Linked DNA regions of Homo sapiens: region 1 is linked to region 2. The links are contacts of gene promoters, found by promoter capture Hi-C in human tissues and cell types (Jung and others, 2019). All regions are on one chromosome and are shown on one strand. The core of a region is centred on a gene start or on the middle of the fragment in contact, and the rest is flanking DNA. Distances in the headings are between cores, read along the strand shown. Region 1 has its middle 30 kb from the start of RASSF8. Region 2 holds the start of KRAS (KRAS proto-oncogene, GTPase).

Region 1 (2,700 bases), core at 62-2,561, 680 kb after region 2:
AGCACTTTGGGAGGCTGACGTGAGAAGATCACTTGAACTCAGGAGTTTGAGATCAGGCTGGACAACATAGTGAGACCCCATCTCATATTAAAAAAAAAAAAAAGAAATGGAAATTCTCAGGCCCCACCCCAGATCTACTGCATCAGAAACTTTGGGAGTGGAACCAGCAATTGGTGGTTTAAAAAGTCCTCCAGGTGATTCTGATTCATGTTCAAGTGTGAGAGCCAGAGACCTAAATCATTCCATTTCTGTTCAGATTCATGGCTTGTCTCTGCCCCTTAAATTTTCTTTTCATGACTTAGTCTCTTCTATGATTACTAACCATTTTGTTTGGTAACATTATCAATTGTTTCATAACTCAGAACCCTACTATCCCCATCTCCATCCAAAACTGGCTGCTGGCTGGGCTCACATCTTTAATCCTTTAGTTTGTTTTTTGAGACGGAGTCTTGATCTGTCGCTCAGGAGGGAGTGCAATCTCATGATCTTGGCTCACTGCAACTTTCGCCTCCAGGGTTCAAGTGATTCTCCTGCCTCAGCCTCCCGAGTAGCCTCCCGAGTAGTACAGGCATCCGCCACCACACCCGGCTAATTTTTGTATTTTTAATAGAGATGAGCTTTTGACATGTTGGCCAGGCTTGTTTCGAACTCCTGACCTCAAGTGATCCACCCTCCTCCACCTCCCAAAATGCTGGAAATACAGGTGTGAACCACCATGTCTGGCCTCACATCTGTAATTCTAACACTTTGGGAGGCAAAGGCAAGTGAGTCACTTGAGCCTAAGAGTTTGAGACGAGCCTGGGCGATATAGGGGCGAGACTCTGTCTATACCAAAAAAAAAAAAAAAAAGCCAGGCGTGGTGGTACCTGTCTGTGGTCTCAGCTGCTTGGGAGCCTGAGATGGGAGGATTGCTTGAGTCAGGAGGTTGGGCCTGCAGTAAGCCATGATCATACCGTTGCACTGCAGCCTGGGTAACAGAGCAAGACCCTGTCTCATAAAACAAACAAACAAAAAAACAAAACAGGTTGCTATTTGGCCCTGAAATCATTTTAAATTAGGATATACACATCTCTTTTGTGCAGATTTTTGTCACTTCCTAATTATGATATCTGATTAATTGAAAATTCGGACAACTTAGTTTGTTTTAATTTAGTTTACCAGGTGTTCATTTTCACTGCCATTGTATATATAACACAAATCACTCACAAATCTATAAATCTTTGCTCTGTGTTTTGTTTTGAATGGGTAAATAGAAAATCTCCTATCACAGGACAGTATAGGTAGCACTGAAAAAAATTGGTTTTCACAGCACTGATTCCCTAACAACTTGAAAAGCATCAAGCAATTCAATTATCCTAAAATTGTCATCCAATTTGTTTCAGTGCGGGAGAGCTAGTATGCTTATGTCATGAAGACCAGGAAATTAGCTGCTTTCTGGAATAAGTGAATTTTTTCCTTCCCATCTTTGCCATATCTCTGAAATAAATATTTAAAGACAGTAGGGATTGGAAGGATTGGGGCAAGGGGAAGGAAAAGGAGAGGTGAAATGGGATCTGAGAGAACAAAGATGTTTTTCATTTCAAATGACTCCAAAATATCAGTAGTTATTCAATGTGCTGAATGTACTCTTCCATGATACTATAGTAAATGTTTGCTTATACCTAAGTAGTTCAAATAATTGAATACTTCATGTATTTATTGACTTCCCTCCCAACATTCCCCAAATGTTTACACAAATTAATTTTCAATCAATAAAATGTGTAGACATTCATGATTCTGCTATAAATTAATATTAATGTGTAACATTTTGGGGAAGTGTCACTCTTATGCCATTCACTATGAGGCATTTTTTAGGGTAGCAAGTCATTCACTTAAATTGTAATGAAAGCATTTAGTTTTTATTAGTGTGTAGGAGTCTTGTTCTCAAGGGAGTATTTCACAGCTATTATTCATTCAATCTCAGTTACCCTGGGAGGGAGGGAAAGGGGACCCAGTGAGCCAAAGTCAATGAGTTGAGTCATTGTTCAGTTCCCTTCCAAAGGACTACTCAGTTTCAACTAAACCCCTTAGGTTCAATTTAAGATTCCTGGCAAAGGCTTTCCTTTGTGATTTATTGCCATTGACAACAGCAGACATCGCCTGTCTGTTCTCTATTTGTCTTCCACCTGCAGGACCTTGGGAGGATCCCTGGAAGCTTCCTGAGGAGCAATAGCCTCCCAGGGTCAAGCAGACATTCCCGGAGTGGCATCTTCCGATTACTTCTGAGATCCACAGAACCCACCAGAATGGCCAGCCTTGTACCTTATGATCAATACTCTAAGATTTTAAATTTGGTGGTCGTGATGATGATCCTTTCTGATTTCATCTTCATTAATTTCTATCTTTTGTACATCCCTTCACCTTAAAGAAGTGGCACTTTGGCCTCATGGACTGGACTATGGTGGCACAATTATAGCTCATGGCAGCCTCAAACTCCTGGGCTCAAGCAATTCTCCCATGTCCTGGGTCTCTAGGACTGCAGGTGCACACCACCATGCCTGGCTCTTCGTTTGTTTGTTTGTTTTTTCTAATCCTAGCTAATCACATTCTTTTAGTTTCCCTTGCTTCACCAAGGAGTCTGGACTCCAGGTCAAGTCAAGTGATTTCTTTCCTTTTTTTTTTTTTTTTTTTTTTGAGACAGGATCTCTCTCTGTCGCCCAG
Region 2 (3,045 bases), core at 71-2,570:
GGAGATGCACATGTTTAAGTCTATTTCAGGCGGTTAGCTGGTGGATTGCTACAATTCCTCTGTAAGTTTAAAAAATCATGTAAGTGCTGTTTTGGAGTACTGTAATAACTCTTGAGATGTAGAACACATCTGCAAAATGAGGGTAGTATAAAAGAGACGAGGGGATGAGGGTAATACATAAGAAATAGGGGAAAGGACAAGAACAGGTAAATTAAACTTCAAGTACTATTTTTGCTATTGCTGTCTACACTCAACTAGCAAGGAAAAAGCCTTGCTTCTGCTCTGCGGGTTTTCTTCGGGTTTAACTTGACCAAGCAAAACAGACCATCTGGGATTAACTTTTTCCTTTTCACTGTAGGTCACAGGCTCTACGTGTAGGGTGTTGGCCACCTGTTCTTCCACCATCTCTACCTCCACCTCCTCCTTTGTGGCCACAGCAATGTCACAGCCCATACATGGGGGAGGGGAGCATTCAGGAACTCGGAGGCAGATGCATTTTTTTCCAAACACAATAACCTCAAACAGTGGTCTCTAAGCACTTTCCTATGCTCTTCCAAAACGTGACCTCCCCTCTTACTCACACATCCCCTACACACGGAAAAGGACCACTATCCGTCCAGCCTGCGCTCGAGGGAGAAGTTTATACCTTCGTCCTAGAGATGCCAAATGCAGCAGGGAAGGCTGGACCGAGGCAGCCGAGTGCTGGAAAGGGAGGCAAGAGGTGCGGGAGCGGGGAGAGGGGGAGGGGAGGCCGGGGCGCCGCGGGAGTAACCTCCACCGCACCCCACCGCTCCGAGGGGCAGCCGGCCCGGCCCGAGTTTCTCCCCAGAAGCCTCCAGCCGCGGCTCTCGGGGAGGAGGAAGGAAGGGGTTCCCCGTCCAGGAAGCAGCACCAGCGGCGACCGCCTCCAGCCTCACCCTCCTCAGCCCCGCACCGCCCATTCCTCACTCCCCGCGCCGCCGCGTCCGCGCGCCTCCCCCCTGCAGACCCCTCTCACCCAGCCCGCCCCGACCCCGCGCCCGCGCCCCCCACCCGCCCCTCCGGGGACCCCTAATTCATTCACTCGCCGCCGGCCCCGCCCGGCGCCGGCAAAGAGGGTCGGGACCCGGGCAGGGGCCCAGGAGGGGTGGTCCGCTCCGTACCTCTCTCCCGCACCTGGGAGCCGCTGAGCCTCTGGCCCCGCCGCCGCCTTCAGTGCCTGCGCCGCGCTCGCTCCCAGTCCGAAATGGCGGGGGCCGGGAGTACTGGCCGAGCCGCCGCCACCTTCGCCGCCGCCACTGCCGCCGCCGCTGCTGCCTCCGCCGCCGCGGCCGCCGCCTAGGAAAATCGAGCTCCGAGCACACCGATGAGTTCGGGGCCGGGCGGCCGCAGAGGGCAGAGCTATCGATGCGTTCCGCGCTCGATTCTTCTTCAGACGGGCGTACGAGAGGGAGCGGCTGAGGGCGGTGTGGGAAGAGGGAAGAGGGGGAGGCAGCGAGCGCCGGCGGGGAGAAGGAGGGGGCCGGGCCGGGCCGGCGGGGGAGGAGCGGGGGCCGGGCCGGCGGAGGAAGGGGTGGCTGGGGCGGTCTAGGGTGGCGAGCCGGGCCGGCTGGAGAGCGGGTCTGGGCGGCGCCTTGGCGGGAGGAGGGACTGCCGGACCCACGCGGCGGCCCGCCCCCTGCCTAGCCGCAAGGCTGTCCCCGCAGCCGCCAATTCTGACCCGGAGCGGGACCGGACCGCGGCGGGCTGTGCGGATGCCACCAGGGAGACGCCGCGAGCGGCCACGCCGCCCCGCTGACCGGTCTCCACAGAGAAGCTGCGAAGAGCACCCCGCCACCCTCAGGGTCGGCCTATACTGGCGCGCATCCATTTACTATCATTGACTGCATGTAAATAAACAAGCAGTCACCAAAAGTGGGAGGCGACTTCGGGGACTTAGGGAGACCGGGCGGACGATTTCCCACACCGGGGCTGTCTGATCGCCGCCCCGATTATTATCAGCCTCAGCACTTGGGCTGGGAATTTAGCCCCAGGCCCAAACAAACACGACAGACCCTTTCAACGCTAATCTTCTCGGGTCAGGAGGCTTGTGATATTTTGCTATCTTTCTTGATATTTTGAACCCATCACAAGGTCTCTAAACAGGGACTTCGCTTATACCCAGGGCCCCTGAAATCACAAACAAAAGACAACTGTTTTTAAGTAGAGATGGCCTTGGTAGTTTAGACCTGAGGAGAGTCATTCAAACATTAATTAGAAGACAGATTAATCAGTTAAAGTTCGTGGAGTTAAGACATTAAACAATGGGGCAATTAAACATGCTAGCATACCCGGAGTCTGTGTTGATAAACTACCTAGAAATGTATCTTGGGAGAGTCTTGAGGATTGAGGGCTGGAAAAGCAGCGCCTGTACCTGATAGGATCGCCCCTCCTCCGAGACTTTCAGTTCCATTCCTCTAGTCCACATCATAAACCACCAATAAAGCTGAATTTAAATCCCAGCTATTATGTCTGTTAACCAAGGCTTTACATCAACTGTCATCCTTTCCTTTCTACTCTTACACGGGCTGTAATCTGCAAGGTTTATTCCAGTCTCCCCCTCCTAGCGCCAGGTGGAAGGGGCAGAAGAGAAAAGTGAAAGACAGGGAAGGGGAGAAAATGTGCCTACTCTATGTTAAGTACAAGCTAAATCTTTTGCACTTATCGTATCATCTTATTTAATCATCACGACAACCTTATGAGGTAAAATACTTTTTACCGTTTTACAAATGACGAAACAGATTTAGAGGTTAAAACGTTGGCACAAGTTCACATAGTTAAAAAATGGAGTATACTTCATGTCGGATCATAGTCACTCTACTCCCAGATCATCAGTGGCCCTCATTCCACTTGACATAAAAGCAAAATTCTTCTCAAAAATCCTACATGGCCTTAAATTATTTGATATCCCCTACCCTCTTCTCTGAACTCTCATCCTACTGTTCTCCCTTCCTTACTTACGTAGATAAACATTGGTTACTGGCTGTTCCTTGAAAATGCCAGGCAGGCGTCTTCCTCAGGGAATAT

Evidence for each region. The method cuts DNA at HindIII sites, captures the fragments that hold promoters and counts their contacts. A contact is called where the count stands out against the background at its distance.
Region 1: a fragment that was not itself captured here is called in contact with the fragment with the promoter of KRAS in region 2 in 1 of the 25 tissues and cell types used here (mesenchymal stem cells).

Annotation. Positions count from the first base shown.
Region 1 is chr12:25,927,338-25,930,037 of GRCh38, forward strand. No RefSeq gene overlaps it. Among named protein-coding and RNA genes, the nearest start is that of RASSF8, 30 kb to the right of the region's middle. The HindIII fragment of the contact is 4,682 bases long and covers 1-2,700 here.
Region 2 is chr12:25,249,609-25,252,653 of GRCh38, forward strand. KRAS (KRAS proto-oncogene, GTPase) reads right to left here and starts at 1,321. Exons shown (of 5, transcript NM_004985.5): 1 at 1,143-1,321. RefSeq lists silencers at 922-971, 1,032-1,881. The HindIII fragment of the contact is 8,237 bases long and covers 1-3,045 here.